Linked DNA regions of Homo sapiens: regions 1 and 3 are each linked to region 2. Evidence: promoter capture Hi-C in 16 types of primary human blood cells and fetal thymus (Javierre and others, 2016). All regions are on one chromosome and are shown on one strand. Each heading gives the region's core, a stretch centred on a gene start or on the middle of the fragment in contact. The rest is flanking DNA. Distances are from core to core; before and after follow the strand shown.

Region 1 (4,394 bases), core at 1,591-4,090, about 23 Mb before region 2:
ATGAACTGAGAAGAATGGATGAAACGAGAAGAATGTTCACAGTAACATGAAGTCTAGCTAATTAACCTGAAATGGTGATAGAAATGGAAAGAAATAAATATTAGCGTTAGCGGAAAAGAAATGTGATAAGGACTGAGTAGATGTAAATGTCAGGTGAAGTTTGGTCAGAGAAGGAGCAAAACACAAGGCCATCACTTTGAGAATGAAAATAATGATTACAGCTTTGGAAATTTAAGACAGTTAACCTAAACTTCCATTCCCTTCTGAGAGTTTCTCCATTTGTTCTAGTATCCTATTTTTTGACACTTTTTAAAAGCATTTTAAGAATTCCATTCACCTAGGGATTTTCATGACTTATTTCTATTAAGTATATATTAAATCAGTGGCATATTTTTTGAGTTTTTTTTTCATTACGGAATATCTTCATTTCATATACTTTTGAACTATAGTTTTCAGGACAAAACACTAAATAATCCATTACAGAGGTACCACATATAACAATAATTTTTCTTATTTATATTTAGAGTCCACCCATCTTTTTCAGATTCTTAGGTTCTTATTATTCCATAATGAATGCTTCTGTGCTTCTTGGTGGAATGGAACTTCCATAGGTTTAGAGAAAGAACAAAACACACATAATAATTTCTTGCACGGATTTTAATCTGACATCAGTAACTTCAGATCAAAATAATTCTGGAAAACCACCACCAATAACTAAGAGTAATTAATGTCTTCAAGAAATGTTTTTAGCCAATCTTTGTAAAGACAAAGTAGGAAAAACATCCACAAGATTTAAACCCAATTGTTCATAAAAACTACAAATAAACACAAATAAGCTGAAAGAATCTTTAGAAGATTCATCTTTTAAAATCTTCAAAATGCTGATAAAATGGCCAAGGAACAGAAACCAACACATAAATACCCAAGCAGAAGCTGATTTTTCACCAAAACAGGTCATTATGTGAGGTGGCCAGCGCCCCTGAATGCCAACTAAATTTCAATAAAGCATATGCTTTAAGTGGTAAGTGGCCCATGTTCTTTAATGAATAGACTGCTGTTAGAATTCTTCATATTGTAACCAAAATCCACCTTCATATTGTAACCAAAATCCATGCTCTTTAATATTAAGAGCATGTACTTTCAAATCAGCCTAGGGTTTGAATCCAAGCTGACCTTGGAACAAATCGCTTAAAACCTTTTAGAGCTCCCGTTTCCCAATCCATCAATGGGAATGTTTCCAACTATCACATGGATTTTGGTGGTCAATATATGTTAAATATTTATCAATGCCTGGCACACAGTAAAACACTACAAACGGTACCCTCCCCTCTTTTCAGCACACCCTCACATTTATTATAGGGCCAGTCAGCAAGATTACGTGACCTTCCACACCCCAACAGTCAAGTAGTAAAGAAAATACGGCAAACAGATTATACAGGGGAAAAAGTAAAGCTAAGAGGGAACTGATGAAAAGAAATGCATGAGCCGAGGACTGAAGATTCAAATGAAGACAAAGAACAAGTTGTGAAGTGGAAATCACTAAAATGAAAAGGATTTATTTATCTGACATCAAAAAAAGCTTCAGGCTGGATGTGGTGGCTCACACCTGTAATCCCTGGACTTTGGGAGGCTGATGCAGCAGGTGGATCATTTGAGCCCAGGAGTTTGACACCAGCCTGGGCAACATGGTGAAACCCTATCTCTATTTTCAGCTTATTTAAAATTGTTTTTCATCTTCATACCACGATTTCAATACTATTTTGAATGTGTATGCATTTCCTTGAAAATATCTACGCTGACAATTCATTAATATGTAAGTTCTGCATAGGCTGGGGAAATATTACACTGTTTCTTACAGCATTACACATGGTCTGTATTAAATATTTTGAATGAAGTTTGTAATACAAAGCCCACATTAATATTTTGTATGTTCAGTAAACTCCAGCATCCCTTCATTTACACCTATTCAACATTTATTAAGAGTGTACTTGTGCCAGATACAGTGCTGAGCACTAGAAATACAATGATGGATAAGACAGCCCAGTTGCCTTCATGGAACTCACAGCAGTCCATTCATTAAAGAACATGGGCCACTTACCACAAGTAATAAATTCTGAAAATAAATAAAACTTTTCCATTAATCTGTACAAGTGAGTTCAATTAACCGTTCCTAAAAAGTAACAATACACTTATTATATTTTAAAATCTTTAGATTTTTCCAATCAACTATTTTAGCTATTAATTCTAGGCCCTATGTTTTAAGCTGGACATTTGACAAACTAGATATAATGTGAAAAATCTGAAAACCGTATGAGTTTTTTAGTCTAGAAGACTCAGAAATCATGACAACTGTCTTTATATTTTAAAGGGTTAGCATACACGTGTGCTCTGTACCATTCCAAAGGGTTAAACTTGGAGCAATGGTTCGAAGGTGGATTTTGGTCACAATATGAAGAATTCTAACAATTTGGGATATTGAATAATTCAACGACCTTAAATATTTCTGTAAGGCTGCATGCTTTAAAAAGATAAATTTTCACTTAATCCTTGAAATAATCCAGAAAAACAAGTGTTTCCCTGTTACAGTTTAGGAAACTGAGTCTTCAAGGATCTTGCTAAAACACTCAAGTCCCAAATCTAGTGAACAGGTTGCCTCTAACTAACGTGCTTCCCACCTCTAGATGTATTTCAGGCACATACCAAATGGCCATCTGTCAGCAATGTTAGCCAAGACACCCTAAAGTTCCTTCCAAATTCAACTCTTTAGAAATACTGGTGGTCAATGTAAACACCATGAAAAGATTATGTGTTGAACGGTCCTCCAGAATGCAAGCTCTATGAGGGCAAGTAACTTTTTCTTTCCTGCTACATCCCAATACCTAAAACAGTATATGGCATACAATACAGGGTCAAAAAATACTTGCTAAATATGAATAGTCCTAGTCATACATACCACGATTATATATTTCATATATGTATATAAAAAATACATACCACTATTATACAATAAAGGATCTCGCTGAAGTATCCAGCAACTAAAAAACCTGATAAGTACAAAATCCATTCTTAAAATTGCATCAAGCACTTTAAATTGTTCAAGTGCTGAAACTTCAACCAACCAGTTTGCAAAACAAATTCAACTGCAAAAACTGCAAACCCTTTGGCAAAGTATTATAGTTAAAAGTAACATACAAAGTCTTACAAGATACAATGGCTAATTTTGATGAATGAGTTTTTCAATTCTTCGCTAAGGTATCAACTAACATTTTAAGTATGCTTCAACACTCTTTAAGAGTGAAGCAATTTATAGAACTTTTTTGGCTTAAAGACAAACTCACGCTCAGATCTCTATAAACATCACACCTTTACATTTATTATGGTGATACTTCAAAAAGGTCTGCTAATTTTGCAGATGCATATTCGTATTATGTTGAGATTCCACATAACCCATACTTAGAGGTACTGTACATCCACTTGCCATTACTGAAACCCAGGAGGAAAAACTGATACAAATGTCATTTTGCAATACTCTACACTATAAGGTCTGGAATGTCCAAACATCTCAAGGAATATAAGAACCCATAAAATACTCGAAAGTTGTTTTTAATGCACTTTGCTTAGTGGATAAGTATATTTTAAGGCACACTTTTTAAAAAGAATATTATATAACAAAAAAGGCAAGAAAGCTACAGAAAAGTTTTACTCCAATTTCATTAAATTAAATTACACCTTTTAAAGATTTCTGGACAAAGATCCTGATATTTAAAGGTCTAGTTATATTGTGTTTTTATCCTTCGGGTATATATCTAAGAAAAAGTCTACTTAGCTTTTAAAGTAAGCAGTTACAGGCTTATAATAGTATAAGAATGTACTCAGCCATTCACTTGGTTACACTAGGTTACACCACCCAGATTTATAATGTTATTAGCAACTGGGTGTCATCACAAACCAACAAAGAAACCACAGTCTTGTCATTTTTTCTACCTTCTATAATTATGACTTTGAAAGATCAGGTAAAAACTATCCCACACAAGAATATCACTAAATAGATACCTTTTTTAACTTCAGTATTCAGAACTATCGGCTTCCACCTAAGCTTTTTTAACATACTAAAAGAATAAACTTTACAGAAAGGCTGCTTCTCCCATTTCTGTAATAATCATAAGAAACATCTGCAATCCACATCTAACTCTGACATCAGTACCTGATTCTTATTCCCCTGTACAATACTAGATCTTAAGTTGCAGTCCATTCCTAAATTCCCAACAATGAAACCTCTTCACAGAACTTTCAAAATTAAGACTTAAACCACCTCTAGGTTTACCCAAATTGTACCAGAAAAGCAAAGAGCAACTGAGAGAAACCTGTTAACACATTAATGCAACAAGTCTGAA
Region 2 (4,344 bases), core at 702-3,201:
AGCATTACAAAAGATTGGTCACTCTCAGGAGCCTTACTACTTGCTTGAACAGCCACATCATTATTAAAGCATCATCCAACAAAAGTATCTTTGTTATACACTGAGATGAATAATTTCAAACCATTTTCATGTAAGATGTTCTGGCTCAGATCTGTCCCAGTCTTTAATGCTGAAGCTTTAGGGGGGAAAAACAGCTGGAGTTTAGGAAAGATTTTTGCTAAAGGCAGGAAATAATGATAAACATATTCCAGGAGATTTCAGATGTTAGTGAAAGCTTCACGCAAAATAAATGCCTAAGGCCAGAGGAAAATGCATTTCGCTTTTCGTATGGCGCTATGAGAAGAAACAGTGGTCCTGGGGATGCTTAACAAAAACCACCTACATAATTACTCAAATATTTCTCTTTGACACATACACGTCTCTTTGACACACATATTGAGAGAAACATCAATACTACTCTGTAGGGAAACAACAGTAAAACATAAACACTAATTTCCAAAGAAACTTTCATTGATGATGTAAATATAAATCTGCACCCTGGAGAAATGACTGATTCCCGCATTTTAGCAAGCAAATCTTATTCTGAAATACACACTTGTATTTACCCCCATCTACCTATGGTCGAAGCTCCAGGCTACATATTACAGTTGAATGAAGGTTGGATTAAGAGGCTAATCTAAGGCTATATATAGGCAGCAACACCAATTTAATCTCCGCCCTCTCCAACCTCCCCACCCTCCACTCCCTATTTCCATAAATCTCAAGATCTGAGTTACAAAGAGAACCGAGAACTCTAGCAGAGCAAAGAAGCCCTTCCTTCCCCCTCCCACAGGCTGTCTCTCATAAACGAAGTATTAGTGCAAGTGTAAATTGTTTCCAAACATCTTTAACAAGCAACATTGGGCGATCAGGTTTTCTTCTACAGCTTCCACAGAGGCCAAAGAGATGACAAGTAGTGGGGAGGGCGAGGATCACCAGCGTAAAAACTACCTTCTCCCGAGTCTGTTCTCACTGACTCGCTAGTAATGGGGCGCTGTCCTTGCGACCCCTACCTAGCCCAGAGCCCCGGCCCCAGCCTCCCCGGGAGCCGCATCTGGCGGTGCCACGCACGAGACCATGTGCACCCGCCACTTCCCACCGCGTGGCTGGCCCCCGCCCGCCCGCCCGCGGTCCCAGGGTCTCCCGAGGCGGCCAAACGTTGCGAGTCGGAGGTCTTCATCCCAGGGCACTGATACCCCGTACGCGCCGTGATGATGAGGTGGAGCGGGGGCTTCTCCACCGCGAGGCAGGAAGCCGCCCCAGGAGGCACATGCTTCCTCCCCGCCAGCTCCTGCCCGATGGAAACCCCGGCGGGGCGGCAGTCGCTACTCTCGCAACCCTCACGGCGCCCCTTGCCTCACCTGGGCTGCTTCTCACCTGTCCGAGGAGGTAGCGACGACGCGCAAGGCTGGGGGCTGCGGCGATTCGTGCAGCAGCAGCGGCAGCAGCAGCAGCAGCAGCAGTGGCGGCAGACAATGGAGGAGTGAAGGACAGACACATTGACATAGACACACGGAACCCGGCGCAGCCCCGCCTCCCGTACCGCCCCCGTCTCCTAGACCGCCCCCGCCCAGACTGCGCCACTCCCGGGGGAATGGTGGGGGTACGGCGACAACCTGGGGCCTCTGCATGCCCCAGAAAGCCGTCGCTGAGCACATAACTGCCAGCTGTAGAATTTTCAATATTACATGTGGCGAAATATTTGAACCGGACAGGATAGGGGAGCGGAACGTGTAGGAGGAATTTAATTCCCCCCTCCAGCTTTCTGCATTTGGTTTTGTCCTCCCAGGTTGCTCCAATGGCGATCTCTCGCTACCGCCTCCTGCGGCTCCTCCTCCTCGGCAGGGCCAATGACAGGCGGCAGGCGGTGACCGCCGCAGGGCCTGCGGAGACCGTCCGCCTGGCTCGCCCGAGCTCGCCCGCTGTCCGCCAGCCCGCGGGAGGGAGGAGAGAAGCGAAGCGTTTCCGCGGTTGGCTACTCAGTGTCTTGGTCTCAAGTTGCCTCATTGCGGCTGGCGTTCCCAATACAGACGCATCGTTTCTTTTTTAATACTCCCTAAGAAAGGGAATAACCTTCAAGCTGGCGGGAGCAATGGTTCACATAAAGAAAGGCGAGCTGACCCAGGAGGAGAAGGAGCTACTGGAAGTCATCGGGAAAGGTACGGGTGCTGGGCTGCGACGCGGCCGCGGCCAGCCTGGCCGGGGGGCGTGGCGGAGCCCGGGGGGCGCTCCTGGCCTGGGTGACCTTTGGCTGCGGTTCTGCAAGGTTTGCAGCCTGGAACCGGGAAAGAGCGTTTCTCCCTTTGGTCTGGGAAAGGTTGCAGGGGCGGAGAGGTGGGGAGGCAGAAGCAGTGCTGGGACAAGAGGGGTAGTTACAGAGGCTCGGCCTCTAAATCCGCTTTTGGAAACGTACGGATTTCCACGCCCCGCCTTAGGTTAATGCGAGCTTCCCGGGGTGTGGACCCCAGTGTGTGAATTCTTCACTGCTCCCGAGGGATTTTGACCGCGGTCAGTCCTGGTAGTTTCAGGTTCTTAGGCGGGTGTCTAAATGACCCTTTAGACTTCCGCAGGCCGAATGATCTGGATCCTTTGCCGATCCCCGCCCCCGCTTGGGAGTGGAGGGCGCCCTTAGGGAGAGGGGTTCTTCATAAGGGTACAGAACTAGGTCTGTAATTTGCTGCATTGAGACTTCCGTATCCAGGGCCTCCCTGGCTTCCAGAAGCCCCGACAGCCTCAGGAACCCTAGAGAGACAAGGAAATTGGCGAGGCCTCCACACCCACCCCTCGGCCCACGTTGCACAGATGAGACCTTCTAATCGCGCTCCTTCGCGCTTTCTTGTCCACTCCCCCAAGGCGTGCCCCACTTCCGCAGTGCTGAGTCCCAGCGGGGAGCCCCGAGGACGAGCCAGAAGCCATATTTCCCCGGAGTCCCCGAGTGGACGTCCCAGAGGAGTTCCCTGCCGAGTCCCGTTACCTGGCAGGTGACATCAGCGTGACTGCATGCTTCTTCTGCACCCTCACGGTGCAGGGATGGTGATGCGTGCGACTCCGGGCAATTAATGTGGTGATTTTAAACTCAATAATAATATAGCCATGTTTGTCCTCGAATGGCAGAGATGCCAGTCATTGCAGCATAAGGCTTCCCAGTTTCCAGTTTTATTTACTTAGTAGCCAGGCTGAAATGTGGAATCCTAGAGAATAAGGCAGATTTATTCTTCATAGCGACAAGGAAACTCCACATGCGAAGGAGAAAAAATTCCGGTTTGAACTCAACAGGTGCTGATGAGCTGAGCCCACCCGATCTGATCTCAACTATTCTAAGTCAGTCACAGCTATATCTATCAATGATGTGTTCTTTGCCTGGAATTTGGGGATTTGGGTTAGAGTTTAGATTGTTGTACTGCATGGTTCTTGCTGACCTATTTGGCATTTCAGTCTTTCAGTTCTTCCTGTCTCTAGGTAATTTCTCCCTGCCTTTGATGGCTCTGGGATTCAATTAAGCAAACATGCAAGTTCTAGCTGTGTGCCAGGTACTGTGCTGGGCAAAAAGGAGACAAAGGATCAATTCACAATCCACCAGGGACAAAAATTCTTTTAGGCAGGACAGAGCTAGTACATGTCCTCTCTCTCTCTCGCTCTCGCTGTCTCTTTCTCTCTCTCTCTCGTTTGTTTGAGACAGGATCTCACTCTTCACCCAGGCTGGAGTTGCAGCTCTCTGCAGCCTCCACCTCCCTAGTGGCTGGGACTACAGGTGCGAGCCACCATGCCCGGCTACTTTAGAAAGATTTTTTTTTTTTTTTTGTAGAGATGGGGTGGTGGGGGTCTCCCTATGTTGCCCAGGCTGCTCTCGAACTCCTGGGCTCAAGTGATCCTCCTGCCTCGGCCTCCCTAAGTGCTGGGATTACAGGCATGAGCCACTGGGCCTGGCCCATCATGTGATCTCTTAAAAGTGAAAAATAGTGAGCAGTTTTATAAATTGAGTCTTTGAGAGGGGAGAAGGGATTCCTTGGATACATTCTCAGGTGTCCATCAGTATTTATTTTGAAGATTATATAAACCTGAATTAATGTGCATTTATTCTGGTTAGTGCTGTGATATTTCTGGGCTCACACGGTGCATCAAGTTGCATGAGTGCACTGATGCTTTCATCGCTTTCATTGGACCATGCCAATGAGAAAAGAACTGATGTGGACCTAGTATGTGATGCATTCTTGTCAAATGAAGGTCTGTGGGACATCACTTGCACTCATAAAGAAAAGTAATGGGAGATATGAGAAAAACAACCATAGCCAACGTTTATTGACT
Region 3 (4,218 bases), core at 514-3,013, about 31 Mb before region 2:
GTTTTTACAATAAGTTTGCGTTAATTTTAAGATCAGTAAAGTCAACAAAATTCCACTTTGACAAAAAGCCCATGTAAAGAAACACTAATTTATCCTTCTTAAATGAAACATGAATGCCCACCAGTGCTGAAAGTATTGGAACCAAGAATATAATTTGTGCTCGATACACCTGTGCTGAATTAAAACGGTCTGCGGTGATGAGGTTTAATGCAGAGGACTAGAAGGTCAGGGTAGCCTCTGAAAAAAGAAATAATGTAAGAGCAGCTGAGAAATGGGGAAAGCTTGGGCCAAAATGCAGATGGGCAAACAAACTGAAAGGCGGGAGAGACAAAGGCCTGCCCTGGGAATGGCTCAGCAGCGCTTGTAGAAATCCAGAGTAAGACATTCTTTCTATTCAAGGAAGTCACAAAGTTTTTTAAAGACCCGCGGTTACAGCCAATGAATGGAACCAATGGTCTTTTTAACCAGAAGACCCCAGGAAGGCAGAAAATGAGCCAAAGAAAGGCCAGGCAGGGGACAGTGGGGAAAGGAAACAGGGATGGAGAAGCAGAGAGGGAAGTGCAGAGACAGGTCACCCAGGCGCCTGGAAACTGCCTCTATGGCCTTCACGGGAAACGGCCTCTTTCTACTCCGGATCCCAGACTGTGTTTCTTTGAAACTGACCGTCAGAGGAGAGCGGCTGGAGGCGGACAGACGTCTGCAGTGGGAGGCGCTCCAGGCGTTCCAGGCAGTGTCCTGCCGGCGAGTCACCCGCGACCGCGAGTCACCTCACCAAGCCCTGAATTGGGACAGGAGACGAGACGTGTCGACGAGCTGCGGAGTTCCTCGCTTCTCTGGGCCCTGCCAGGTCCAAGAACAGGTTGCCATATAAAAGAATCGTGAAGGGACCCCCTTCCCCATGCAAATTATGTCATATAACGCATATGCCTGTGAAGTTTCTCTGCGGAGCTGCCAGATAACTCGATGACAATATTTTATGCGGTAACATTTTGTTAAATGTTGACTCGATGGCCACTTGACGCCATCTGAACTCTGAAAGCTCGCGTAACAATCATCCTCCAAATGAAATTTTACCCCCTTCTCCCTTTAAAAGGCGGTGGGGACAAAACATCACTTCGTCACTTAAGTCACCATCTCCTTCCTCTTATCTGGGGCTCCCAGCATAGTTCTAGGGGTTCCCGCACTCCCCGCCCGGGTTTGGGCTGCGAGAAGCGCCCGCCTGCGCCCTGCGGGACCTGACCCTGCCGGCTCTGGCTTCACCCTCGCTGCGCCTCGGCCCGGTGGGCTCCCCGCCCAGAGCCCCGCGCGCTCCGTCGCCGGGACGTGGGAGAGGTAGGCACGGGGTGGACCCGAGGAAGCACATCCCGCCCGCGCGCTTCCCCCACGCCCACCTCGCTCCGCACACACCAGCCCCAGAACCTCCCGGCCGCGCGCCCGCCTCCCCGCGCAGCCGCGCCGGGCCGCTCTCTGCTCCTCTGCAGCTCACAGCCAAGGTGCACCAGAGCCTCCGTCACCGCCCCTACAGGTAAATGGGCACGTGGCCAAGGCAGGGGACGGGCTAGACCCCTGGGAAGAGAGAACGGCGGGAGCCGGGCCGCGGGCGACTCACCACTCGGCCTGCGCAGAGAGCCGCTACACCCGCGGCGCCATCCTCGCACTGCGACACCGGCGACAAACGCAATGCTCCAGGGCCGGACGAAGGGACGGCTCTCGGGAGGCTCGCAGACGGCGGGGCGCGGGTCTGTGCGCCGGAGCACTCGAATGAGGGAACCACCTGCGAGGTGAATCTCATATGGAGTCTGCGAGCGGCCCCGCCCTGCCCGGGGGTTACCGCTAGGCTCGGGCCCCGCCTGCCCTGGGCCGGCGAACTCAGCTGACCGCATCCTGGGCCATCCCGCAGACAAGCCCCGCCCGCCCCCACCTTCCTCTGCCCCTCTGGCCCCGCCTCCCCCGCCTTCCTCCTCTCCACCCTCCCGCGAAGGTCCCGGGAGGCTCAGCCCGCAATTGCTTCTCGCCTCTGCAGAGCAGCTGGGCAATTGTAAAGAACCAGCAGCCAGTTCTGTTACTCATTAAACAGCCCCTACTACAGAGGAAATCTTCTTACCCACGTGGTCCTAACCTGGGGCGGAGGAAACCGGGCTAGAAGCGGCTCTAGGACTAACCCAAGGTCACGCCGCCAGGCAGGATCCCCGGTCTGTCTGTCTGGCGGTGGCCCCGCGGCTGGGGCCAGCGGAGAGAAATGACAGCGTGGAACCAGCCCTGGCCCGGTGGTCGGGAATGTGGAGCTGGCACTGTCACTGTGTGTACCCTGGATCTCTCTGGACGGCCTCGGCTTCCCCCCTGGGGAGTTTCTCTGGGACCTTCCTGATCCTGGGAGTTCCCGCTTGCTGGGGCAAAGCCAGGAGCTCGCCCGAGGAGGGGAAGTGACTCATTCACTTCGAGTCGCAGCTAAGTGGCCGAACTGCCTCAAACCGGCGCTGCACTCTGACCCCCAGGGGCCGGACCTGCCTGCCCCCGGCCGGTGCCCACTCTCCGTCTCAGGCGTCTTTCCTGGTCCTCTCCCTGCTTCCCGAACGCGCACTCTGGTGAGAGCACAGAGCCTGGGAAAGAAGACGACCTAGAGGCCCGGGCAGCCCAGCACCTCTGTTACTTGCTTCCTAAAGGGAACTCCAGTTCCTGAGAAAACATGGGGTTGGGCCGGGAGTGGTGGCTCACGCCTGTAATCCCAGCACTTTGGAAGGCCGAGGCGGATGGATCACCTGAGGTCAGGAGTTCGAGACCAGCCTGCCCAACATGGTGAAACCCCGTCACTACTAAAAATACAAAAAATTAGCTGGACGTGGTGTCGCGTGCCTGTAATCCCAGGTACTAGGCAGGCCGAGGCAGGAGAATTGCTTGAACCCAGCGAAGGATGCAGTGAGCCGAGATCGCGCCATTGCACTCCATACTGGGTGACAAGAGTGAAACACACAAACAAATCAAGGAAGGAATTAAGGGTTTTATTGAAAATGAAAGTACGGCCAGGCGCAGTGGCTCACACCTGTAATCCCAGCACTTTGGGAGGCCGAGGCGGGTGGATTACAAAGTCAGGAGTTCAAGACCAGCCTAACCAAGATGGTGAAACCCCGTCTCTACTAAAAGTAAAAAAAAAAAAAAAACAAAAAAAAAAACCTAGCCGGTCACAGTGGCAGGTGCCTGTAATTCCAGCTACTTGGGAGGCTGAGGCAGGAGAACCACTTGAACCTGGGTGGCAGAGGTTGCAGTGAGCTGAGATCATGCCACTGCATTCCAGCCTTGGTGACACAGTGAGACGCCATCTCAAAAAAAAAAGGTAAATGAAAGTACACTCCACAGTGTGGGAGCGGGCCTGAGCGTAGGGGCTCAAAGGCCCCATTCCAGAATTTTGGGGAGTTTCAATGTCCTCCGCTTGGGGCACACACTATGTAAATGAAAGGGATGATGCAAAGTTACAAAGTCATTTACTTGGCCTACGCAGAGGCTATTTCCTGTCATAGCTAAAGTGTGAATCGGCCTTATGTTCCCTGCCTCCAGACCCTATTTTGCTGCCTCAGACTGAAGACTGAAACTGGCCTGGTTAGGAAGTTGCTATTCTCTCTCTCTGAAGGTAGATTAACAACTTAGTTTTAGTTTTGTTACCGGAAAAGGGTCCCAATCCAGACCCCAAGAGAATGTTCTTGGATCTTGTGCAAGAAAGAATTCGGGGCCAGGGTGAGTCCACAGAGTAAAGTGAAAGAAGCAAGCTTATTGAGAAAGTAAAGGAATAAAAGAATGGCAATTCCATGGGCAGGGCAGCCTCTAGGGCTGCTGGTTGGCTATTTTTATGGTTATTTCTTGATCATATACTAAATAAGGGTGGATTATTCATGAGTTTTCTAGGAATTCTTCCTTTTAGAACATATAGGGTAACTTCTAAATGTTGCCATGGTATTTATAAACTGTCATGGTGCTGGTAGGAGTGTCGTTTAGCATGAGAATGCATTGTAATTAGCGAATAATGAGCAATGAGGAAGACCAGAGGTAGTTTTCCTCACCTTGCTGGTTTTTGGCAGGTTTTGGCCAGTTTTGGCTGGCTTCTTTACTGCATCCTGTTTCATCAGCAAGGTCTTTGTAACCTGTATCTTGTGATACCACCTGCCAACCTTCTATTTCATCCTGTGACTAAGGATGCCTAACCTCCTGGGAATGCACTCCAGCAGA

Evidence for each region. The method cuts DNA at HindIII sites, captures the fragments that hold promoters and counts their contacts. A CHiCAGO score of 5 or more calls a contact.
Region 1: a contact is called between a fragment that was not itself captured here and the fragment with the promoter of ANKMY2 in region 2, in 1 of 17 cell types (non-activated CD4 T cells). The highest score is 9.0, in non-activated CD4 T cells.
Region 3: the fragment with the promoter of UPP1 here is called in contact with the fragment with the promoter of ANKMY2 in region 2 in 1 of 17 cell types (non-activated CD4 T cells); the score reaches 8.8 in non-activated CD4 T cells.

The regions. Positions count from the first base shown.
Region 1 is chr7:39,952,112-39,956,505 of GRCh38, reverse strand. All of the region lies in intron 1 of CDK13 (cyclin dependent kinase 13), which reads right to left. Among named protein-coding and RNA genes, the nearest start is that of CDK13, 4.1 kb to the right of the region's middle. RefSeq lists an enhancer at 4,124-4,394. The HindIII fragment of the contact is 2,517 bases long and covers 1,582-4,098 here.
Region 2 is chr7:16,643,361-16,647,704 of GRCh38, reverse strand. ANKMY2 (ankyrin repeat and MYND domain containing 2) reads left to right here and starts at 1,951. Exons shown (of 10, transcript NM_020319.3): 1 at 1,951-2,198. The coding sequence starts at 2,132. BZW2 (basic leucine zipper and W2 domains 2) reads right to left here and starts at 1,524. Exons shown (of 12, transcript NM_014038.3): 1 at 1,417-1,524. RefSeq lists an enhancer at 1,545-1,824. The HindIII fragment of the contact is 5,140 bases long and covers 277-4,344 here.
Region 3 is chr7:48,086,810-48,091,027 of GRCh38, reverse strand. UPP1 (uridine phosphorylase 1) reads right to left here and starts at 1,763. Exons shown (of 9, transcript NM_003364.4): 1 at 1,610-1,763; 2 at 664-840. RefSeq lists silencers at 1,199-1,388, 1,729-2,068 and enhancers at 1,169-1,698, 2,209-2,418, 2,231-2,760. The HindIII fragment of the contact is 3,480 bases long and covers 284-3,763 here.